Linked DNA regions of Homo sapiens: regions 2, 3, 4, 5, 6 and 7 are each linked to region 1. The links are contacts of gene promoters, found by promoter capture Hi-C in blood cells and fetal thymus (Javierre and others, 2016). All regions are on one chromosome and are shown on one strand. Each heading gives the region's core, a stretch centred on a gene start or on the middle of the fragment in contact. The rest is flanking DNA. Distances are from core to core; before and after follow the strand shown. Region 1 holds the start of INPP4B (inositol polyphosphate-4-phosphatase type II B). Region 2 overlaps RNF150 (ring finger protein 150). Region 3 overlaps RNF150 (ring finger protein 150). Region 4 has its middle 13 kb from the start of RNF150. Region 5 has its middle 39 kb from the start of RNF150. Region 6 has its middle 41 kb from the start of LINC02432. Region 7 has its middle 20 kb from the start of LINC02432.

The links. Contacts are between HindIII fragments. The CHiCAGO score rates a contact against its expected background, and 5 or more counts as called.
Region 2: a fragment that was not itself captured here is called in contact with the fragment with the promoter of INPP4B in region 1 in 7 of 17 cell types (naive CD8 T cells, non-activated CD4 T cells, naive CD4 T cells and 4 more); the score reaches 20.4 in naive CD8 T cells.
Region 3: a fragment that was not itself captured here is called in contact with the fragment with the promoter of INPP4B in region 1 in 2 of 17 cell types (monocytes and M2 macrophages); the score reaches 5.9 in monocytes.
Region 4: a contact is called between a fragment that was not itself captured here and the fragment with the promoter of INPP4B in region 1, in 4 of 17 cell types (monocytes, M1 macrophages, M0 macrophages and 1 more). The highest score is 11.0, in monocytes.
Region 5: a fragment that was not itself captured here is called in contact with the fragment with the promoter of INPP4B in region 1 in 1 of 17 cell types (M0 macrophages); the score reaches 5.6 in M0 macrophages.
Region 6: a contact is called between a fragment that was not itself captured here and the fragment with the promoter of INPP4B in region 1, in 7 of 17 cell types (naive CD4 T cells, naive CD8 T cells, total CD8 T cells and 4 more). The highest score is 14.1, in naive CD4 T cells.
Region 7: a contact is called between a fragment that was not itself captured here and the fragment with the promoter of INPP4B in region 1, in 10 of 17 cell types (total CD4 T cells, naive CD4 T cells, non-activated CD4 T cells and 7 more). The highest score is 37.8, in total CD4 T cells.

The regions. Positions count from the first base shown.
Region 1 is chr4:142,844,641-142,848,081 of GRCh38, reverse strand. INPP4B (inositol polyphosphate-4-phosphatase type II B) reads left to right here and starts at 1,781. Exons shown (of 26, transcript NM_001101669.3): 1 at 1,781-1,873. The region is part of intron 3 of USP38-DT (USP38 divergent transcript); the gene reads left to right. RefSeq lists an enhancer at 438-1,024. The HindIII fragment of the contact is 4,051 bases long and covers 69-3,441 here.
Region 2 is chr4:140,862,267-140,865,707 of GRCh38, reverse strand. RNF150 (ring finger protein 150) reads left to right here. Exons shown (of 7, transcript NM_020724.2): 7 at 1-3,441. Among named protein-coding and RNA genes, the nearest start is that of TBC1D9, 110 kb to the right of the region's middle. The HindIII fragment of the contact is 2,140 bases long and covers 711-2,850 here.
Region 3 is chr4:141,127,463-141,130,903 of GRCh38, reverse strand. All of the region lies in intron 1 of RNF150 (ring finger protein 150), which reads left to right. Among named protein-coding and RNA genes, the nearest start is that of RNF150, 4.3 kb to the left of the region's middle. The HindIII fragment of the contact is 1,615 bases long and covers 785-2,399 here.
Region 4 is chr4:141,145,166-141,148,606 of GRCh38, reverse strand. It overlaps a transcript of RNF150 not described here. Among named protein-coding and RNA genes, the nearest start is that of RNF150, 13 kb to the right of the region's middle. The HindIII fragment of the contact is 1,703 bases long and covers 892-2,594 here.
Region 5 is chr4:141,170,823-141,174,263 of GRCh38, reverse strand. It overlaps a transcript of RNF150 not described here. Among named protein-coding and RNA genes, the nearest start is that of RNF150, 39 kb to the right of the region's middle. The HindIII fragment of the contact is 422 bases long and covers 1,548-1,969 here.
Region 6 is chr4:141,289,964-141,293,404 of GRCh38, reverse strand. No RefSeq gene overlaps it. Among named protein-coding and RNA genes, the nearest start is that of LINC02432, 41 kb to the left of the region's middle. The HindIII fragment of the contact is 1,728 bases long and covers 676-2,403 here.
Region 7 is chr4:141,310,592-141,314,032 of GRCh38, reverse strand. No RefSeq gene overlaps it. Among named protein-coding and RNA genes, the nearest start is that of LINC02432, 20 kb to the left of the region's middle. The HindIII fragment of the contact is 404 bases long and covers 1,593-1,996 here.

The DNA of each region.
Region 1 (3,441 bases), core at 532-3,031:
TTCCTCACTCTCCTATCTCTCTGCATTCAGCTCACTTGGGGTAGAGGCTGAGCATAGGAGAAAAAGCTTGAAGAGAAGCAAAAGGAAGGGCTTCGGGGGCGCCAAGCAGTTTCTGGCCTATAGTGTTTATTATTTGATTCTATAAACATTTATTGAAACTACAGAATATTAGGTATTGTCCCAAGCTCTGGGAGCAGAGTGATGAAAAAAATAAATGAAACGAACAAACAACTCCCCCCACCAAACAAAACAAAACAAAACAAAACAAAACAAACCCAAAGTCCCTGTCCTCATTGGCAAGGCTTATAATGTGGTGGTCAAAGGTTTGAGGAGTGAAAGGATGCCTAGATGCGGGCAGTGACAGCAGGGGTGACAGCTGGGGGTACATACAGCTTCCTGGTTTGTGAAACTGTTAAGCCCCGACTTAACCCAAATTGATTTCACTGTCCTGACTTTGAGATTCCAGTCTTTTTGCATGGCAAATGTAACACTTGTGTACAAGCATTCGTACACTGCTTTACTTAAAATGTGATTTTAAAGCGCCCTCAGGGAGAAGGGCTGGGGTGTCTTGATGGGCTGGCTCTGGGCACCTTTACCTTTGAACGGCTCCATCAAAACCTTTCCGAGAGAGCCGCCAGGTGGCACCTGTAAAGCGCAGATGGGGAGAGTCATTTGCCCCACACCCTACACAGCCCGGAATAACCAGGGTGCGTGCTTTCCCCTGTGGGCTTGTTAGGGGCTAGGAAGTGGGGGAGTTTTAGTCTCCGTCCAGACTGCTTGCTTACATACCCCGTTTTCCTGATACCCCAACACATTCAGGGCGGATTTGTCCCCACGCACCCGGGATATCAAAGGCATGTCATACGCTAGTTGGGAGCATCTCGGCCTCAGTCACCCGCCGCGACGTGGGAACTGGCGGTGGGTGGCCGAGGGCTGCTCTAAGCTGGTCTCCTCAGCCCGACCTCTGCCCGGGGCAAGGGGGAGGAGGGGCAAGAGACAGGGGTCCCAGCGCGGCTGCAGACTGGGGTCCAGCAGGCGTGAATGGATGCCTAGACGCAGGCAGTGACAGCAGGGATCCCAAGCCCCTTCCAAAAACCCTCGGTCTAGGGACTGCGCTGCCATAGGCCGGGGTCTGGGGCGCTTTCTTCCTCCCGCGGGTTCTTTCTCTGTGGTTTCTCCTGCCCCCGCAGCAGCGTGGCGGCCTCGGGTCCCCCCTCGTCGCGGTAGCGGTGATCCCACAGCCCAGTCTGGGTGGGCGACCCAGCGGGCAGAGGGGCCGCAGAAAGGGGTCGGGGTACGGGGTGTGAGCACACGGAGCCAGCGTGGTAATTTCGGGGTGGGCAGCCGGGCCACCATCTCCGCTCTATCAGTAGCGGGAAGCGAGCAGCGCCAGTTGCGCGACTGTCGCTGCCACGGCCGCCTCTACTCGGTCGCTGGTGACATTGGGAGGAGACCGCTTGGAGAGAGCAGAGGAGGAGGAAGAGGAGCGGGGAGGGTGGGGGTTGGGGTGGAAGAAAGTAGCAATTGTGCCAGGGGGCGTGTGAGCAGCCGGAGAGCCAGCCGCGCTGGTGACAACTTCTCTGGGGCGCGCGCGGGGCTGGTAGGCGAGGAGCGAGCAGGGAGCGCGGCCGAAGCCAGAGGCTGGGGGAGCTGCTGGAGCCTCGCGAAGCCGCGGCCGGCGCCCTGCGCCGTCGCCGCCGCCTGCTAGTTTCCTCCGGGTTCTCAGCCCCGGGTACTGAGGCTTCGGTCTATAAATAGCAGGTTACAGCTCCTCCTGGGCGCGCACACGCTCACACGCTCGCAAGCGAACGCAGGAAAGTCAGGCTAAAAGTGTCTGCTGCTGCTGCCGCCCCCCACTCCGCCTCCGGGAGAGGTAATTACCCGCCTGGGATCCTAGGGCTCGGTGGGGGAATTTTGCAGGGTGGGGTGGTTGATGGTGGGTAATCCGGGAGGCGAGGGAGCGTGTCTGAGAGCGTGGCGGCACGTCTTGGAGGGGGGAGCCTGTCTGTTTTGCATCAAGTTTCTCCGTCTTGCAGCCTCCATCACCCCTCCAGCTCTTTAGCTTAAAGGGTGGGGTGGGCTGTCTCTCCTCGGCTGCTGGGGTACCCCTGTCACCGCGCCTACCCTCTCGCCGAGCGCCCCTCTGCCCGGCGCGCGCGCGTTTTCGCATTCTCACTCACACACGCACACTCTCCGGGCCCCCGTGGAACTCTGAGCTCTGGCCTCGCTGACCTTCCAAGGCTGCGCCCACCTGCGCTGTCCCTGAGAGACGCTGAGGTTGGCCCGGGCACTCGCTCTCACTTCCAATCCTGATGATCGCAAGCTGCCGCCGCCGCCGCCGCCGCCGCCGCCGGCCTGGGAAGAAGTCCTTAAGGAATAGAGGCAGTGGTGGGGAGTGAGGGTGACTGATGTTGGTGGTCCCGGTTGCCTTGTTTTTTGTTTTAAAAATAAAGAGCCCATCTCCTTGACCACCTTCATCCCACCCTCAACAACTCATTCTGGCAGAGAAGCCTGGCATGTCTTCTCTCGGCCATCAGGCAGCATCTCTTGTCCTTCCCCAAAGAGGTCTCGCTGAGAGGTTAGGGCCTTGGCGCAAGAGTGCCTGGGTTTGGACGGGGGAGGTCATTGTTTCGGGTCTGAGAACTATGCTGCAGGCTCCTCAAGCTCTCTGGCGCTCAGGCAGGGCCCAGGGCCGGGGAATGTCTGGGAGCCTGGTTCCTGAATGTAGTTTCAGGCTGGTAGCTGATATGAAGATGAGGATGCTAGAACCACATATACCTGTTTTTCCCCCTCCCCACGCTTCTGAATTCTCCCTTCCTTGGGGGCAGTAGTTTCTGCTCCTGGGGAGTCGGTGGAGAGGGGCCCAGCAGTTTCTCTTTGGGGACAAGAGGGTGAGGAAGCACATATTGATTAGGTTGTTGCTGCTGCTGCACAAAACTTACTGGAAAAACCCGGTAGGGTTTTCTATTACTCTTGTTTTAAGGATGTAAATTTACTCCTTTTCCTCTTTTATCTTCTCCCTAACCAGAACTAGTTTTCCTTTCTCTTTCTGGAATGTTATTTGAGGTCATTATATTTTATGACTCCAGATGTTACATTTTGCATATCTCCTTCCTGTCAGTATGACAGACAGAACTTGTTTATAAAGGTGTGGCTCTGTAAGTAAAAGCCTAAAGACAGAGGATAAATTCATCTTCTCTCTCTCAAGATGAGCTCCAGATAGTTCTTTTATAGGTGTACAACTACATTTCAAAGACCTTGCTTGAAAAAGGACTTTTCTTAATGAGTTCTGGACCAGAAATGGTAGTAATCTGACTCAATGATAAAGCAGCGCATAAGGTGCAAGGAATCATCAACAGGGCAGCTGGCTGATGATGTGTAAGAAGTTGAGTAAAGCAAGGACTGGGCAAGTGGGCATTGTCAGTTCACATACTATGCACA
Region 2 (3,441 bases), core at 531-3,030, 2.0 Mb after region 1:
ATGAGGGGTCTGAAAGGCCAACCCGAGGCTGGCAGATCTGACCCCAAGGAGGTCCTGCTGCAAACCCCCTGAGCCTTTGCCATTCACTACTTACCAAAGTTTGTTTCTGGAGGATTTTCCTGTAGCTTTGATAGTTTAAAAAAAAAAAAAAAAAGAAAAAAAAAAAGCTTAACCAGAAAGTTTCTCTTTCAGAAGAAAGGGGAACAGCCCTTCCTTATAGCCTTCTTTACCTCCCCCAAAGAAGAGACTGACCTGGAGACCTGGTAGTCTACAGATGAGTGTCAGAGGGTGTGTGTACCCTCTAGAAGCAAATGCAGACTGTATGTGTATTTGCAGATGTGCATTTTTCTATAGCAAGAGTCTAGACTAGCACTGTCCAACAGAAACGTAATGCAAGTCACAGACATAATTTTAAATTTTCTACTAGCCACATTTTAAAGTGTAAAAAGAAACAGGTAAAGATAATTTTAATCATGTACTTTAACCTAATATTGTTTCAACATGTCACTAATGTAAATTAATGACATGTTTTACATGCTTTTGTGTACTAAGTCTTCTAAATCCATTGTGTCTTTTACACTCACAGCACCTCTCAATTTGGATAGTCACATGTGGCTAGTGGCTGCCAATTGGACAATGCAGGTCTAGAGTTCCTCCAGTATTCTCACAAGATCCCCCGACCCTTACAAAAGAAAAGAAGGTTAAAAGCTTAATTACCTCCAGGGAGAACTGGACACCACCCAAGTCGCCTAATGAGAGGCCCAGAGGTCCATTTATTTTGTAGTGAATAAAGATTCAGGCACCCTTTTTAAAATTTCTGCTTGAACTTTCTAACCATATCATTGATGTCCATGACCATTTGTTGTTACTCCTCTGACCAGTTGTTACTTAAAACTCACACAAACCATGCTGATTTGGTGCTGAAACAAAATTATACCCCTCACTTCTATGGCAAACCCTCGGACTGATATGTGGCACTTAGGAGCCAAAGAGAACTCCAGACTGAAATCACCCAACTTTACCTCAACCCCTTCTTCTTGTTCATGGTTGGTGAAAGTCCTTTCCCAGTGTCCCCCAGTCCCACAGCTGTAGTGAAAACTCACGAACTTGGGAGGAAAGAATGAGAAATGCAAGACTTTATGTGGCCTTCTTGAAAAAGAATCTTTGGGGGCCTGTGATCATCCGGTCTCTACTTGGTGAATTATGACCACCTCCAACAGCCAGCATTTTACTCCAAGTCAGCATCCACCTGCCACCCCAATGCTATGGGGAAGAAAAGGAGCATTTGCATTCACTCAAAATAATTTAGGGTCACCTTTAGGAACTGCTACCTCCTATGTGGCTAGTCCCTTTGGAAGAGCTGAGCCCTGACTATGAATACAGCTTTTGAACATTGACTTAATCTCTAGGGTTAGATATCCCCTGCAGTGTCAACTCTGGTCATCTACACAGGGAGAGGTAGAGTCTGGAGAAGGCAGAAAATTAAAAGCGGCAAAGGTACCTACCCATTTTTGACATCACATGGTAATGATCAGAATCATGGAGGCAAAGCTCTGTCCAAAAATGTTCATTTTGTTTTGTTTTGTTTTGTTTTCTTGTTTTTAACATTTCCTTCATCCTGGTGAAATATCCTGGAAATTCATAGATCTGGGTTTGGTCATTTCAAAGCTCACCATGCCCAGTGGCCATTTCAGTTACTGCCCTGACATCCCTGAGGCTACCATACTCTCAAAACCAAATCAATGCCAGTGATCTAACATAGGATTCTTTCTTATTTATGAGTTTTGTTTAGATGGATATTTTTGCAGAGCATAAAAAATTAAATGACATTTAGTTATCCATTGAATGTATCACCCTGACTTAAAAAAAAATCCTTAAATCAAAACTTTTCAAAAAATCTGGGCTATGGAGTCACTCCCTCTGTGGAGCGAGAGCCCAGTCTTTTCTGGTACTAAGGCCACAGAGGCAATTTCCAGTAGCATTTTTATATCTTCTCTAAGTTTCTTTTCCTTTTCTGTCTGTATCTGTTTTTCTCTGACTGCCTATATCTTACTTTGTATACCCATACATAAATTATTTTCCCATCTTCTCTCTTCCCCTTTTTTTCTGATTTGTTTTCTCTCTTGCAAGAAACTCTGAAATAACCTTCAGAACACAAAAAACTGGAGGTTCTATACCTACAGAGTCATTATCATTATTGTGATTACCATTGTTACTGTTGTTGGTGTTTTTCCTCTTTTTATTGTGTAGCAATATCCATATTCACTTCTGATGAGGCAAACCTGTTTACTATAAACCAATGTCCTCCCTAAAGGAGTCAGTTTCATTTTCACTTCTCACATCACCAGTTGTATCGCAACCCATCTTACAACCATTGCCATGTTTTCAGGCTTCCTTGCCATAAATGTTTTCTGGGCAAATAATGGCAAAGCAACAATTCCAGAATGCTGTCTAGATCTGCTTTCTCCCACCCTCAGCATTTGACCCTCCTCATTCGCCTGAGCCCCCAGGGTTAGGATTTCTTGGAAAAACTTGTATACTGTACCTGATGGAATGCCCATTCTTCCTAACTACTTAGCACAAGTGCTTGCTCATCGTAAGTGATCTGAGGGCCACTAATTCCTGAAGACTGACAAAGAGACACGAAGAGACTACCCTCTTAAGATGGGGATGCATGGTTCTTCATGCAGTGCTCTTGGCCACCGAGGTCCTTCATCCATGCCATTGCATGGATGAATACGTTTGATGTTGGCAGTTAAAATGGGATGGGAGTGTCACCCTGCAGGAAGTAAGAAAAGAGGATGGCAGGATCTCTGATCAGGGAGCTGGTCAAAGCAGGGCTGGAAAGCTTCTGTGCTTAACAAAATGTGCGTGCTGTCCCCAAGTAAATGCTCATCCCTAGGTTTAGAGCTGACCTGGGTTTTGGGGAGTTTGTATTTTTAAGGAATTAAATACTCATGAGTTAAAATACTCATGATTGCAAAGAAGGTCTGGATTGCCTGAAAAATAAATTAATTCTAAGAAGCTAATATGAGTTTCTCATCATCCCTTAGCTCTTCCTTTTCCCTCCTTTTGTCCTCACTCAACCCCAGACCCTGTGTAATAGGAACATTAATTTTTAAAGACCCACAGATCAATAGCCACACTCTTCCACTCTACACCTTTTATTGACACCAAGTTATCATCCCAGAACTAATGAAGCAAGTCCAGATGCTAGACGTGGCCCCTTAATATCGAGCAATTTGATTGCAATCCTGCTTGTTCTACAAGAACCTGCTAAGGTCAGTCACATCTCTCTTCACCTGCCTTGAGTGCTTCATAATCACGTGGCTTTTTCAGGAATTTCAGTGATCAAAGATCTTCTAATTCTGTGCTACCACTGACGTTTGCACTTAATACAGAGCCATTTGCTCTGTGGCCACCTGATAAATATTTGCTGAT
Region 3 (3,441 bases), core at 343-2,842, 1.7 Mb after region 1:
TTCTTGAGCTCGACAGTTTTCTAAGGGAAAAGATTGTGCTCTCACCTTGAGTCTTAAGAGCACTACTGAAACTTTGATATTCAAGGATGTTAAGGACTATGGAAAGCACTGTAAGTCATGTAAAGCATCTTTAGATAAACATGTTACTTAATATTTAAAACCTCAGTGGAGGAGGGGTGAAGGAAGCTTTTTTGTTTTTGTTGTTCTTTAAACTCCAAGAAGATTGTTAGCTGACTTTGTGAGATTCTTTGTTTCTCTGTGCATATGCATGAAATCTTGAACTCAACTTCTTTGAACATAAAGTAAGAGGCATCATTTGTTCCTGTCTAAAAAGGTTCTCTAGAACTGCCAACACATTGGATCAATTAATGGCTTGCTTATTTTTAAAGAAAACACTAAGCAGATTTCCCACACAAATGATGCTTGATTAAGATAGTGGGAGTGGAAGTTTAGTAATACTGTAGTTTGAACGTTAAAGGAAAAAAAAAATTGGAAATTGTCTATTATCTAATTGTTCTGTTTCCAAAAATGTATTCATGCTGTATCTGCCAATGGCCAGGAAACTCCATATTATCTTCTGACATTTTGCCACATTAGGAGACTCTGTTCACTTCAGTCAGAGGCTAGCATTGATTTCTGCTAGAGTGTCATTATGAGCAGATACATGACAGGGTAGCATGGTAAACCCTTGACTATACTCTGAAATTCTTCTGCCTAAATCTCAAACACTGCCAGCTCTTGTCTGGCTGTCAGTGTCTTCCATGTAGTCCAGATCTTGAAAGCTTTACTTTTCCTAGTTAAATTTGAGGTCAGATTTCTGAATTCAGTTTGAGAAACTGCACATTTTAGATGCTAATCAAATATTTTTATTTTGTGAACTTGGGATACCATACCAGAAAATCTGCATATTTGTGAACTTTTAAATTCAGTTTTTAAAAAGTTTTAAAAACTGCAAAAGCTGATGATATATCTATCACCTTTCCTTAGATGCTTTATTTTTGGAACTGATAGATTTCAGGTGAGAAGGTCTGTATTTAGTGTTATGCAACCTGTCGTTTAACATCTATGCATTTGTGTATCTTGAAATTCAATTAAATAGAAATTGTTTTGTCCTTTTCATATACGTTTTCTGTTTTTTTCTTTTCCTGCTTAAATAATTTTGATTTTCTGCCACTTATGTAACTATAACTTCTCATTCAAAAAGACACCACTTCTCCTGGGATAGACCAGTAGTTTTGCTTTATAACAAGTCACTTTCCTCCCCAGTATAACAGCTTTACTGAAATATAAACATACTCTGCAGTTCACTCATTTAAAGTATGCATTTCAATGGCTTTTAGTGTATTGACTGAGTTGTGCAGCCATCATCACTATCTAGTTCTAATAAGAAACTCTTGTACTTCCCCAATATTCCCCAACTCCTAGTCACTCCCCATTATTCCCCAACTCCCAGCCCTAGGCTAATCTACATTCTGTCTTCATGTATTTAAATGCCTCTTTTGTACCTTTCATATAAATGGAATCATATAATATGTGGACTTCTGTGATTGGCCTCTTTGATTTAGCATAATCTTTCTAAGGTTCATCAAGGTTGTAGCATGCGTCAGTACTTAAACCCTTTTTATTGCCAAATAATATTTCGTTGTATGGATATATCACATTTTGTGTATTTATTCATCAACTGATGGAAAATTACGTTGTTTCTACCTTTTAATTGTTATGAAAAATAGTGCTATGAACATTCATGTACAAGTTTTTGTATGGACATTTCTCTTGATTATATACCTAGGAGTGGAACTTCTGAGTCATATGGCAACTCTATGATTTAATCTTTTGAGGACCTTCTAGACTGTTTTCCAAAACAACTGCATCATTTTGCATTCTCACCAGCAGTGTTTGAGGGTTCCAATTTCTCCACAGCCTCATCAACATTTGTTACTATCTTTTTTATTTTGCCCATTCAAGTGGATGTGAAGTGGCATCTTCATTTTGTTTTAAATTTTCATTTCCCTGATGACTAACTGTTACTTTTTAACATAGTCTTGTTTTTTTCTGCTATTCATTTTATTCCCTTTCACCTTACACCCACCATTATTTATTCTTTTCCAGACTTTCAACTCATACACTTTTATGCTAGGGAAGAGAGAGTGATTAATAGAGAGAATCTGCTTCTCTCACTTTTTTTTTAAGTCTATGGACCAGAGATTTATATGTCCCCTATTAAGGGACATAAGGCTGTATCTTTAGTGCAAGAGCACCAAGAAGGCCATAGCAAAAAGCTATAGAGAAATGCATCTTCCAAGTAGTAAAAGCCCCAGAAGTGAACTTTCAGTTATAGGCAAAGGCAGTGAGACTCAAATTACCTCCTCAAAGCTGGTCTGATGCCTGCCTGTGAAGCTTCTTTCGGTGTACCCTAAGGAAAATGATGATATCAGAAATTTCTAGAGGCAGTTTAGGGCACTAATTAAATAGGAGTGTAGCCTCTAGAGCCAACCACTTGGATTTGTGTCCTGGTGGCACTACTTTCTCACTGTGTATCTTTGTGCAAGTTAACCTCCCAGGTCTTGGGTTTCCTCCTTTGTGAAGTGGAGGATAACACCATACCTCGATTGCTTGTTATGTGAATTAGATGGATTAATGCATGTACAGTGTTTAAATCTGTAGCTGGCACAAAGCAGTCAAAAAATGTTAGCCCTTCTAAGCATTGGACCCAGTGACACACAACGACATGCAGGAGCTACACACTGGATCATCATACCTCTGAGGCTCACTGAGTTCCTGGCAGCCTTGGGAAAGAACTCCTTATTTACCCTTTCATACTGAAGAGGCCAGAGCAGTGGTGCCAATTTGTTTGTGGCTCAGCTAATTGAAACAGGGTGTTCCAGTTCCCTTTGATTGATGAACATTTAAGATTCTCCTATTGAGTTTGTACTTTCTTTTGGCTTAAATTGAAATCTCATCGTAGCAAGGGCATGTATGATAAACGTGGTAGTCTGTGTATGCAGGCTGTTTGTGACTGAGTTGTGATGTTGAGGAAATGGTATGTTTTATTTTTTTCTTTTTTAAAGAGTGTGTTTGATATCTTTCTGTTTGTCTATTGCTAGTACATAATCAACAGGAAATGAAACATCTAGCTGTCTAGGAAGAACTTTTGTGAGGCTAGGTCCCTAAGGGCAACTTGGAGATGGAGGAAGGGAAGAAATGGTTGCAGTAACTCTGGAGAACATGCTAGGCCCTTGGAAAGGAGGAGCCTAGGATGGAGTATATCTGTGTATTCTAGACTTCTCCAAGGTTGGAGGCAAAATGTAGTAGATCTACTGAGGCTCTTCCTCCATAGGTGGGTGCTCAGAGTTCAATGTATGGATTCATGCTACCTTTATGGCCGTTACTTTGATTGCTGAAGTCTACCTATGCCTTAAACTCTGTAAAGGACCTAGCTGC
Region 4 (3,441 bases), core at 494-2,993, 1.7 Mb after region 1:
TAGCCGGGTATGGTAGTGCATGCCTGTAGTCCCAGCTACTTGGGAGGCTGCAGCAGAATTGCTTGAACCTGGGAGGCAGAGGTTACAGTGAGCCAAGATGGCACCATTGCACTCCAGCCTGGGCAACAAGAACAAAACTCCATCTAAAAAAAAAAGTGAAAAGCTTTAAGAACCTGCTAAAGCTGTTGTCCAGGGGCAGTTACTGACAGAAATAAAAACATGTTATAAATTATTGCTCACAAGTCTACCATATTCAATAAAATGCTTACATGAGAGTTTTCTTTTTAAAGGGAAGCATAGTTTATATTCTAGGTCCAGGGTAACAGACCACTGATGATCTGAACTAACTTTGCTCATGCTCAATCTATAAGAGGAAGCCATCATCCTATATATTATTTTATTTTACAAAGATTTTCAAAAAATACATCCTGTATTTGACAAAGTTATTGAGATAGTATTTCAAAAGAAACACAAGTAGAGAGTCTCAAAGTTGTATTAAGACTAATTTTATTAGTAATTTAAATAATCTTTTGTTAATAATTTTAATAAGCCAATTATTATAATATATCCTAAAATTAAGGAAAGACACAAGAAAATATTTTAAGGATGTTACCAACCAATATATGGTTTTAAAGAATAAAGGATGACATGAATTGGTTTAAAAGTTTTTATTCAACTCCTGGGAGAAAACTTATTCTCTACGCCTCATATTTCTGAGTAGATGATTTTCCTAGAGTAGCACTTTTGGATTTTTTCTTCCTCCTTCAGTGATGAGATTGGAAGAAAAAATTAGTAATGTTCAATCAGCCTTTTCCCCTCCCCTCTGAAATCTGCCTGCCCACAGAGAGGGTGCATTCTGAGTTTCTCTCTCTCTCAGCTATGCTCTAAGCTTAGTGAGGCAGAGTCTACCCTTGTAGGAATGAGCTGTTACTGTTGAGGGATTAGTCTGCCTAAGTTTGGGAGGAAATATTTGCAAGCCCACTTGGCTAAGATCCAGTTATTTTGGCCAAGACTGCTATGTTTTCACCAAAATCCATTCCCTCTGCCTTGTGTACATAGAGATACACTAAATTTGCAACTTTCCCAACCTGCTTTACAGTTAGGTTAGGCCATGTGACTGGGTTCTAGGCAATGGAATATTAACTTATGTACACTTCTTCCAAATCTGCCACATGAAAACCTCCTGTGTAATCTTTCACGCTCTCTCTTTCCCAGTTATTAACTGATGTAGAAACTTCAGCATCAGACTTTGAAGCTCTAGGGATGGAGCCACATTATGGAAGGTCCATTGAATGGCCATGCTGAAGGCCACCTGCCAAGCAGGAACATCCTTACTGGACTACATATGAACAATAAATTAACTTTTGTTCAGTCCCTGAAATTTTAGAGTTGGTTTGTTGACAAACCAGTATTACTTATCATAACAAACACAGTCACCAGGCTGGGCAACATAGTGAGATCCTGTCTCTGTGAATAATACAATGATTAGCCGAGTGTGGTGACATACACCTGTAGGCCCAGCTACTCGGGATGCTGAGGTGGGAGGAGCGATTGAGCACGGGAGGTTGCAGTGGCCATAATCGCATCACTGCACTTCAGCCTGGGTGACAGAGCAAGACACTGTCTCATAAACAAAAACAAAAGCAAAACACAGTCACATTCTCTAAAGAGCTTTTATCAGTAATAAAGCTAATATATTGCTGCCATCTGTTTGAGTCCTATCTCTCAACTTGCTCTAATCTTGAGAGTGGAAAGAAGGTATTGTTGATTGATTCCTTAAACCTCCAGCAGATTGTATACTTCTCTTAGTGGAGATAACAAAGTTGCCTTGAGTGGGATGTAGGACCTACAAGATGGGTCCAGCAAGGTCATTTGGTGGGCTTCATATCTGAGAGTGTTCCAAAGTTTGGCTAATATTCAATGGCAACTTGGCAAAGGGATGAGAGTACAGTAACCTCATCACAAACCTTAACTTTCTTTTTTTTAAACTCTTCAATTATGGCTTCCCCAAGTTTTTCTGAGACATATTGCTGATAATTACAGCAGTTGTTGCATATTACTCTTAAATATTCCCAGGAGGCAGTCCATTTTCATAAATAAGAAGATGGCCCAACCTATGCTTTAAGAATAGTTGGCTCATGTTATGGGATCATACTCATATGCTGATTGTCTTTTCCCAAAGAATGCAATTAAAGTTATTTGCATGACGTAGTGAATGTTTCTTAAATTCAGCAAACAATAATTCTCTTGTGAATATTCTTACTGGAAGATAGGATAAAAAACGTTGAAGAAGGTTTCAATCTGTAAAAGGAATGTTTCTCCTGCAGACATTTTTCCTCCCTAGGAAAACAGGGTCAAAGGCTCTATTATTTGGATCTGCAATGTGACATGAATTTTAAAACCACTTTAGCTTAGTCAATAGAACCGATCCTATTTCTGATTTATTAAACATGTATCCATCCCAAAGTAACAGAATGTAGCAGATCTCATTGTTGGTTAGATCACATTTTCTCTTCCCAAGTCCCGGAAATATTTAACCAGTCAAGTTAAATTCTTCCTTGTAATGTAACAGGCAAAGGGACCAATGAGAAGCTTGCTATGTAGCAATGAACAGTAGGTGGAAGGCAGTGGGACACTGAACATGCTTGACTCCAGACACACACTGAGGCAGCCGTGTTTGATGCTATATCTGTCCTGACACAATGATACCCTGAGACACAACCTGACTCCTCAAAATCTGCACAAGATATAAAAGTGGGGAACCTGAACCATAGTAGAACTTGAACATTGGATCTTCCATAAGATATAGTCATCCAAGTAGGCCCTGACCCATGAGAGACTTCTGTCCTGGGTAAAGAGATGGGCTGGGCAATTGATACAATTCCTTTTTGGTTTATACATCCAAAAATGAGATTTTCTTTTTCTTTTCATGGCACCTCATTTCAAAGATTTTTCAGTTTAATGTAGCCATGCCAAGTAAGGCAAGAGAAACAGGCTGTAAATCATTGGTGAGCCTACAGAACTTATTCCATGCTAAATGGTCAGCTATACTATTCACATGAATACACACATGTGCATATACAAGTCCCTACACCTACATACTCACTCTGTTAACTGGAAATGATCTATGTATATTCAGTTATAGAGCCTGTTGAGATCCTTCTACAAAAATTTATCTTTATAATAGGTTATTTCTTTATTCCAGCATCATATTAAGCTAGCCTTCATAATATTCCACAGTTTGCTTATTTTTATTCATCTTAATGTTATGTTAAGTAAAAATATTTCTAACTCAATTTGTATTTATTTCTTCATAGGTCAATGTTCATTTTCTTTGACACTTTGAAGACATTTTGTAACTATTTAAATTCTACACCATCTTATTTGCCATTAAAAAACTTATGTAACACACTTAAGTTCAGGAAATTATTTAGCCAATTA
Region 5 (3,441 bases), core at 509-3,008, 1.7 Mb after region 1:
CAAACAGTACAAACTAGCTGTTTCTTAAAGAAGGGAACTGGGAGATGTCTCAGACACTTTTATGCACATTTTTTGCCCAGCCTTTAGTCAAGTGGTCACAGCTAGCTGTTAGGGAAAGCAGGAAATGTAACTTTATTTTGGGTAGCATATGCCCAAATAACAATTCCTCTATCAATAAAGAATGGGGAAATGACTACTGAAGTCAACTAGAATTTACCACAGAAACATCTCCAAAATATGATTCCTCTGCTGTAAAATGTACAAACATTCTCACATACAAGTAGAAACATATCCACATAAACTGTATTTATAAATCATAAGAAAATGTCTAGGAAAATACACACCAAATTGATAACAACAGTTGCTTCTGAGAAGAAAAGTTGAATGAGACATAGAAGTTTTGAGGAAGAACTTTCACTTTTTACTTGAAATATTTCTAAATTGTTTAAATTTTTATACTGAAAATACATTTATTATTTGTGTTCATTTAAAATTGATAGAAATAAAGACACCTTGGAGTTCCAAGTAAAGGGCTTGTCCAAAGTGTAAAAACACTATTTAACCAACTGTAGGGCAGTTGGCTGGCTCTGCTCAATGTACTCAGTCTTCTCCTGGGGCCATGAGCTAGCTGGGACATTTGCTTCTTGTGATGCTGGCAGAGGTGCAAGAGGGCAAATTGAAACTTAGGCACTGGCAATAGAGCCAGAAGATCCTGACAGCCATTTACCAATTATGTCAACTTAGGTGAACTCCTTGATCTCACTGTTCCTCAATTTCATCTTCTGTCAAATGGACCAAAAAATCTCTACCTTTCAGCGTTGTTGTGGGGAATGTTTGAAATAATGTTAGTGAAGTACACAATGCTCATCTCTCTTTTACTTATGTCTGTTTTCTAACTTTTGCAACAAACATACAGTGTATGTATAATGAAAATAAATGCATAATCAAAACTTTATAAAAGACACCCACTATAAAGTGAGTATATAAGCTACTGTTCTGAATGTAACAGGTGATAATTGATCAAGGCATCAAGGATTAACTAATAATATAAGAGAAAGCCTTATAAATATGGCTGACTCACTACAGACAAAACACCTGATGTCTAATACAAATGAAATAGTCACTGGAATCCCTCAAGGCAATGGAGGTAGCGTCTCTCTTGAAAACCATGTCTTCAGTAGCACTTTGCTTTAAAGTAAGATTAATATCCTAGTTTTCTTTTTTTTTTTCTTTTTTTAAGACGGAGTTTCACTCTTGTTGCCCAGGCTGAAGTGCAATGCCGCGATCTTGGCTCACTGCACCCTCGGCCTCCCGGGTTCAAGCGATTCTCCTGCCTCAGGCTCCCTAGTAGCTGGGATCACAGGTGCCCACCACCATGCCCGGCTAATTTTTTGTATTTTTAGTAGAGATGGGGTTTCACTATGTTGGCCAGGCTGGTCTTGAACTCCTGACCTCAGGTGATCTGCCCACCTCGGCCTTCCAAAGTGCTGGGATTACAGGCATGAGCCACAGTGCCCGGCAATATCCTAGTTTTCATAAATTAAGCTTTTGAACCAAGTGTAATTAATGCTCAAGTGAGTGTTGTTATTTAAGGCCTAGAGAAAAAATCTCCAACTCTGGAAGTTCAGCTAGGTGACTTGGTATCATGGGCACACGGCTCACCAGCTGGTATGGGTACAGCTGAGTCATATCTCGTACAGGGTACAGGTTTTCAGGTCAACTGCTAAGTCCACGATATCTCAAAAATATTTTAAATCATTTATTAAGCATGGCAAATGTGTGTATAGGGAAGGGGGGTAACTTAGTAGATAAATTATTGATCCCAATTTTTCACCCCATCCACATTCATGCTCTTGCCAGAGTCTCGCTGTGAAGAGCGCACTGCCCTGCCTTTTGACTTTGGGTTTAGCTGTGCGCCTTCCTTTGGCTAATGACATGTAGAGAAAAGGGACTCTGGCAGTTCCAAGCTTAGGTGGTAAGAGATCTCATAAGTTCTGTTTGCCCTCTTGCACCTCTGCCAGCGTCCTGAGAAGCAAATGCCCCAGCTAGCTCACGGTCCCAGAAGACAGAGAAGTACACTGAGCAGAGCCACCGAGCTGCCCCACAGTCTAAAGCAGAGAAGCACCAGCTAACCAGCAAACTCATGAGGGAAAAATAAAACCCTATTGCTGTGTGCTGCTGAAATTTTGTGGTGCTTTTCTAGAGAGCATTATTGTGGCAATAGCTAATGAAAACATTGATCTTATGTATAGGTACAAATGTATATGATATGCGGTATTATAAAAGAGCATATAAAAGTATAAGTATTTTTAACTTACTCTAAGCATGACTAGACGCTCACATGAGAAGAAGCACCTAGGTATGACAGGCACGATGCTCACTGGTGACAAGTTCTTCAAGGGGGCTTTGGGATGTATCTGAAATCTGAAGAAAATCATTGGCTCCAAAATATGGGAAGGGAGGAACTTAACACCATTTAATTAAACATCTACAAAATAAAACCTATGTCAACTAGTCAAGCTCAATTCAGTTCAGTTGTGCTATATGTACATGCACATGTATCTATATACAAATTGTGTATAATTTGGGCTATGGATACATTGTAGTACATTCAATTGAAAGTGAAGTGGGAGCTCAAAAGTAGCATTCATCCCTGTGCCTAGAGAATGTCTTTAAGCATCCCTCAGAGGAAACTAAGACTAACTGAGGTAATGGATTCAGTTCCCCCATTCTGTGCTCACTCACTAGTAAGTAGTAAGAATCCCCACTTTCTCTCTCTCTCTCTCTCTCTCTCTCTCTCTCTTTCTGTCTGTCTCTCATAGATGCATCCACACATGGGTGTGTGCACACACACACGCAGAGAAAATGTGTTTTATATAACTTACAAATAAAGAGAATCCCCTATTGGGTCCGATACTCACATAGACCACCGTAAAGAAGGATAATCTCTCCCAAGAGGTGTGGCTGTTAGTGGAAAGTTCTCAGGGAAGCATGAGAAGATCTAGGGTCCAGTCCTGATTCTGCTACTGACTGGGAACATAGACCATGCAGTGTGGGCTGGCGAGGAAAGGTAAACTTTATTTTCTAAGCCTCCTTCTTTTACAAGTCATTCTTTACAACCCTATGTTGGAAGCTCTCCTTGCTTTCTAAACAGACTGTGTATATATTCATTATAACCTTAACATGACTGCATTGCAATTACAATTTTGCATTCTTCTCTAGTCCAGAAGTCTGTGATTTCCTTGGAGAAAGATTATCTCGTATTCCTCTTTGTGTTCTCAGCTTCTAGCACAGGCCTTGGATGTACTGTGCATTAATATGTGTTATGGACTAAAAATCAGCCTTGGAACAACTTGGACACAAACTTATGCAACCAGGTGGAAGTAGTCACAGTGGAGACACTGCTGTCCTTTTGACACCACACTTATAACAATCACATTC
Region 6 (3,441 bases), core at 290-2,789, 1.6 Mb after region 1:
TCAAAACAAAAACTGCTTCATTCACTGCATTTTTTCAAGAACAGGGATTTCTAGAGTAGAGACAATGTCAAATCTTCAGTCATTATTTATCAAAATTGGACACACATAATATTTACTAATGTTTATTGGGTTTTTTTTGTTTGTTTGTTTGTTTTTGAGACGGAGTCTCGCTGTCGCCCAGGCTGGAGTGCAATGGCGCGATCTCGGCTCACTGCAAGCTCCACCTCCCGGGTTCACGCCATTCTCCTGTCTCAGCCTCCCGAGTAGCTGGGACTACAGGCGCCCGCCACTATGCCCGGCTAAATTTTTTGTATTTTTAATAGAGGCGGGGTTTCACCGTGTTAGCCATGATGGTCTCGATCTCCTGACCTCGTGATCCGCCCGTTTAGGCCTCCCAAAGTGCTGGGATTACAGGCGTGAGCCACTGCGCCCGGCCGGTTTTCAATTTTTATAGCAGCTACAAAGTCCTTTTCTGCTGTGCAGTTGGGATCCCATTCACTCCTTCTATGGTGTACTGTGTTCACCCATAAAATCAAACAAATGGAAAAATGTCCTCCTTATGCTTCAAAAAATTATCTTTTTGGAGCCAGGACAAGTAGATTAGAACCCAGACATTATGTCCAGTGCATTTCATCTGAGATGGCGCAAGTGAAAAAGGGGAAAGGTGCCAAAGCTTCACAGTGCTTAGAAAAAAAAAGAGAGTTAATTACCAAAAGGCAGTGCAGTCAAAAACATGTGTGGAAGGCAAAACAGAGTGACTGCCTGTTAAAGTACAACGTAATTAGAAACAAAAGTGGTATGCATGGATATCTGTCAGAACTGGTTGGTTTATGCTGTAGTAACAAAAAACACCACCATAATATCAGAGATTTAGTGCAAAAAAACTGTTGTTTCTCAGTCACCCAAAGTCCTTCATACCCCCTGAAAATGTCTGTCCTGAAGGTATGGGCTCTGCTTCGATTAGCTGCATTGATTACATGGCACTATCCTTGTAATAGTGCTCCCGAGGTCACCACAGCAAAGGAGTGTGCTGGGCAGTCTCATGTGGATAGTAAGTACTTCCGCACCAAAGCATTGTTTGTCACTTCTACTCACATTTTGTTGGCTAAATTGAGTCACGGTATCACGTCAATCTTCAAGAAAGAGTGGAAATACAATCCCTTTCCCACCAATATCCCCCAACACTGTGTGCCTAAAAAGAGTAAAACCTGAAACACTGGAGAGCAACCCAAACATCTTCCACACCATGGAAAACCAAATGAATCAAAATTTCCTTCTAGATGTCAAGCTACATATTCCCCAACCTACACTGACTTTGTCCTAATCATTTCTTTACAAATAAACTTATGTGGAATTATGGAATATAAATTCTCATGGAAATATGGATGGAGCAGTTAAGTAAATTAATATTAGTGGAATTAATCATTACATAAAAGATGGTTAAGAGTATTTTATCCTTAATGTCAAAGCAGATAAAACAAATAAGAGATATTTATTTTGAACAAATTTTGATAGGTAAAATTATACTCGTTTATTAAAGTGAACTAAAGAATGACTACATTGATAATCAGACCACTGCAGCCACTGCCAACACCAGCACAGACCACTTGGAAGCCAATATATTATCTTGCCAGTGCCACAGCCATTGACCGCACCATGCCTGCTGCCCAGGGGCCCAAAAACCCGCCCACCCACCTGGCTCACTGCGGCCATTGCCAGCACATGAGCAAGCTGCCTGGAGACCTAAGAATTGGCCTCCCCAGACCTGCTAATACCAATGCCAGTATATGTCACTCTGGGGCCCAGTTCACCACTCAGTACAACTTCAGTCCACAACTGCCACATCCCCATCCCCAGAAAAACTTCAAAACAGCCTCCACTAAAAACTTCACTCTAAGCTACCGAGGAAGTCATGGACACTACCGAAGCTGTCTGTGGGTTAAAAAATTATACAAAGACTACACTACTGCATGCCCCCAGAATTAAGGCCAAAGTGCCCTATCCAAAACATCATAGATATATCTTAAGGAAAAAGTCCTCCCCTATGAAAGCAAATTCAAAAACCTGGAAAAATTGACTTTACAACAGATGTGCAGATATCAACTTAAGGACACACAAAAAAATTAATAAGCAAAGAAATATGACATTTCCAAAGGAACACAATAATTTTCCAGCAACAGATTCCAATTTTTAAAATTATGAAATCCTGAATGAAGAATTAAAAATAAGTATATTAAAGAAGTTCAATGACATACAAAACAATTTAGATAAACAATACAAAGAAATCAGAAAAAATAATTCAGGATACAATTGAGAAATTTACCAAAATAATAGATGCCATTAAAAAAAGAAATCTGAGAACTAATTAATTCACTAAATAAATGCAAAATATATTTGAAAGCTTCAGCAATAGACTGGATTACACAGAAGGAAGAATTTTAGAACTTGAAGACAAGTCTTTGGAAATAACCCAGACACAAATAAAGAAAAATGAATAAAAAGAATGAACAAAGTCTGCATGACATATGATACACAATAAAGTGATGAAATATTTGAATTATCAGTGTTCCAGGAGGCAAAGAAAAAATGAAAGAGATAGACACCTATTTAATTAAACAATATCTGAAAACTTTCCAAATCTAGCAAGAGATGTAGACATCCAGGTACAGGAAGCTCATAAATCTCCAAACAGATACAATTCAAAAATGTCTTCTCCATAGCACATTATAGTCAAATTGTTATAAGTCAAAGACAAAGAAAGAATTCTAAAAACAAGAAAAAAAGCATCTAGTCACATTTAAGGGAACTCCAATCAGACAAGCAGTATATTTTTCATCAGAAACCTTACAAGCCAGAGAAAATTGGATGATGTATTCTAAGTGCTAAAAGAAAAAACTGCCAGCAGCAATGTCCTTCATAAATGAAAGAGAAATAAAATATTTTCCAGACGAACAAAAGCTAAGGTAATTCACAACCACTAGATTGGCCCTATAAGAAATGCTGAAGGGAGTTCTACATGTGAAAGCAAAAGGACAATATCTACCATAATGAAAACACATGACTGTATAAAGCCCACTGGTAGAGCAAACATACAAATGAGGATGTGAAGGGACTTAAATGTTACCACTATAGAAAACCACTAAATGACAATGATAAACAATAACAGAGAACAAAAAGAACAAGGGATATACAAAACAACCAGGAATCAATAAATAAAATGACAGAAGTAAGCCCTTACATATAAATAATAATCTTGAATATAAATGGACTACTCTTTGCAGGTAAAAGATATGAACTTTCTGAATGTTATTTTATTTTATTTTATTTTATTTTATTTTATTTTATTTTATTTTATTTTTTGAGAGGGAGTCTCACTCCTTGCCCAGGCTGGAGTGCTGTGGCACGATCTTGGCTCACCACAACCTCCACCTCCTAGGTTAA
Region 7 (3,441 bases), core at 545-3,044, 1.5 Mb after region 1:
GGAAAGAGCAAGGATAGAGACCGGGGCAGAAGCTCACCTGGTGGGAATCTTCTAGTGGAAATGTGTGTTCCTATTCTATAAACAGCAGAGGCCAATGCAGCTACAGCAGAGCCAGGGAGGCATAGAATCAGTATATGATCTTAGAGAGTTGGGATGGAGGAAGTAGGAGAGAGAACAGTTCAGTCCCTGTGAACCACTGGAGGATTTTAGAAAAAAAGAGTAGGGACATTATGTGAATTACATTTAACAGGATCTTTCTGGCTGCAGCCGACTGTGAGAGGACCAAGGGTGAAAGCAAAAAGATCAACTGGGAGACTCCTGAAATAATCTTGACAATGCCTGAGGGTGGCTTAGACCAAAGTAGAAGCAGTGAAGATAACTGAAAGTTGTTGAATTGTGGACAGATTTCAAAGGTAAAATGGATAAGATTTGCTAACATGTTAAATGTAGTACGAGTGAAAGAGAGAATTCAAAGATGACTCTAAGATTTTTTTGCCTGAACAACTGGGAGAATGGAATTCCCAGGGAATGAGATGGAAAAAACTTGAGGTTTGGGGTAACATTGAGTTTAATTTTGGACATAATAAGTTTGAAATGTCTATTAGCCATCTGTGAAGAAATATCAAATACACCGCTATATATACAAACCTGTGATTCTGGGAATAGTTCCATCCTGAGGGTATACATTTGGGAGTCAGCTATATGGAGGTGGCATGAAATTCTTGAGATCAGAAGAGATTATCCAGGGAGTGAGCACAGATAGAGAAAGGAGAGGCCACAGGTCTATGTCCCACTTTTCCAGCAGAACACGGTGCAGTGTTAAACCATTGCCACACCTCGCCAATGAAACTAGACCACACTTACCCAACAGCCCAATTATTTGGAAAATTCTTGAAATACAGAAAGGAGTAGAGCAGCCCCAGGAGCTGTTAAGGTGTCTCAAAATTTATTCACTGTAACTCCCAGGAAAGTTCCATGGGACATCACCCAGGGCTGGCTGCAGCCTCTCAGAAGCACATGCAATGACAGCAGCTAAATGCGACTGACAAAAGTAAATCAGACACAGCTTAAATAACCGTGAAGCCTAAAGTTTGGACTCCCTGGTGCTTAGCCCATTTCTCTTTCTGATAAATAACTCTACCACCTAATTATTGAGGTAGCAAATAGTTGTAGCCCCATCTGGGCTAGCCTGAACTGTGGGTCTGTTAGTGCTCCTTAAAACTACTATTTTGTTCAGGGTGTATTTAGGAGGACTGAGCACTCAGTGGGGAAAGTTGCTAGAGGCAATACTCAGCTTCTCCTCAACTACCCAAACAAATCTGCGCCAGCACCAAGCTCACACACTGGTTCAGGACCACCAGCACTCTGCAGGAAACCCTCTTCCCCAAAGATGGTTCAGTGACCACTTAATGTTATTTCAGCATGACCCTTACATATGATGACCATGTGATTAAGTATCCAACCTGGGATACTTTCTAGTGTCAAAGGGGGTGCTATTACAACAGGTATCAACTGGGACTGTGTAGGCAGGAAAGGATTCGTAGTCCTAGCAATTCACACCCTCACTTACTCCACTCCCATTCCAGGAAGCTTATGAAGGAACTTCTTCCAAAAACATAAAATACTGCCTGAGATGACTTCTGGTAAAAACAACTTTGTCTGAGACCATTTTCAGAAATAGTTTAGCATGTCTTACAGATGTGAGGTCCTGTACAAGTTACTGACCACCCATTCTTTCATCTATCTCTGCCTATCTTTTATGGAGCACCTGTTCTGTCCCAGGAACAAGGGACACAGATTTATACAAGGGAATCAGTATTGGTTAAGTTCATATTTAAGTATGTTAACTCACTTAATTCTCACAAAACCAGTGAGAAGTTAACCCTGCTTGACCAGTGAATTCATGAATGCTCAGGGAGGTTATGGAACATGGCTAAAGTCACACAGCTAGCGGGTGGCAGCAGCAGGATTTTATTTCATCACTGGCTGCTAAGCTTGTTCCTCTTTCCTTGTACTACACTGAGGGGAAAGATGGTGAAAGACTCATGAAGGACATGAAAGGAGCTCATGAAAGATGATGAAAGACTCTTGAAAGACAGGAGTCCATGTCCCACAAGATGGCTCAGGCTTTGGCACAGTGTTTCTTGCCACTTTGGGAGGCTGAGGCAGAAAAACTGCTTGAGGCCAAGAGTTCGAGACCAGCCTGGGCAGCAAAGCAAGAACCATCTCTACAAAAAGGAAAATCTTACTTTAAAAAAATATGGTTGAGTCCACGTGAGAGACTACAGTACTTCCTCTTTCCTATTTCCATAACAAATCATTTCAACATACAATCAGATTAAGAAAACTGCTGTGAAAATTCACCATGTGACCCCTTCCCCACCACCCCACTAAAAATACAGGAAACCCTCCCAGTGCCTCCTAAATATTCATGGAGGAATCTTTCAGATGGCACCATAGGCAGTTTGATCTGCAAAGACAAAGTCACTAATATCACCTTTTAACAGCCAGTAGTTTCTTCCCTAATTAAGAATGTACTCTCCCCACCACCAGATTTCTTCTTAGTCTAAGGTTTCATCATCAGCCAGCATTTGCCAGTGCTGCCCTAAGGCGGCTGGCCATCAGAGCCACGTGGGAGCATCACTCCTCAGGCTTCACTGCCAGAAAGGCTGGCACCAGAGTTCTGGGATTGGACTAGGGAATCAGTATTTTTAACAGGTCCCCAAAGTGATTCTGATGCAGTCAGACCACAAATATTTGGCTTTTGGAAATTAATAAGTACCATTAGAGAGAAAGTTTGTATGAAAAAAAAAAATACATCACAAGTGCGGTTCTTGCTACTTCTGCCAAACTGCCATTTTCTCCAAGGTACTTCTTTCTGGTAATGGAGGAAGAGAGCTAAATCCAATTAAAACTCTCTGTGATGCTACTGAAGCTCAGTGTGATGGTTAATTTATGTATCAACTTGCCTGGGCTGAGGGATGTCCAGGTGGCTGGTAAGATATTATTTCCAGGTTTGTCCGTGAGAATGTTTCTAGAAGAGATTAGCATGTGAATCAGTAGACTGCATAGATTCCCTCACCAATGCAGGTGAGCATCATTCAATCTCTTGGGGGTCTGAATAAAAATGTGCTCTCTCTCTTTGAGCTGGGACATTCAGCTTCTTCTGCCCTCAGACATTGGCACTTCTGGCTCTCAGGCCTTTAGTCTCAGACTGAATTATACCACCAGCTTTCCTAGTTCTCTGGCTTACAGACAACAGATTGTGAACTTCTTGGCCCCTGTAATATCATAAGCAATTTATATAATAAATATCTATGTCAATACAGATATAGATAATTAGTTTTATTTCTCTAGAGAACCTTAACTAATACATCCATTGATATTAAAATCATTATCAACCTGATATATATTGGTAAATTAGAGTATGTCTCATCATAT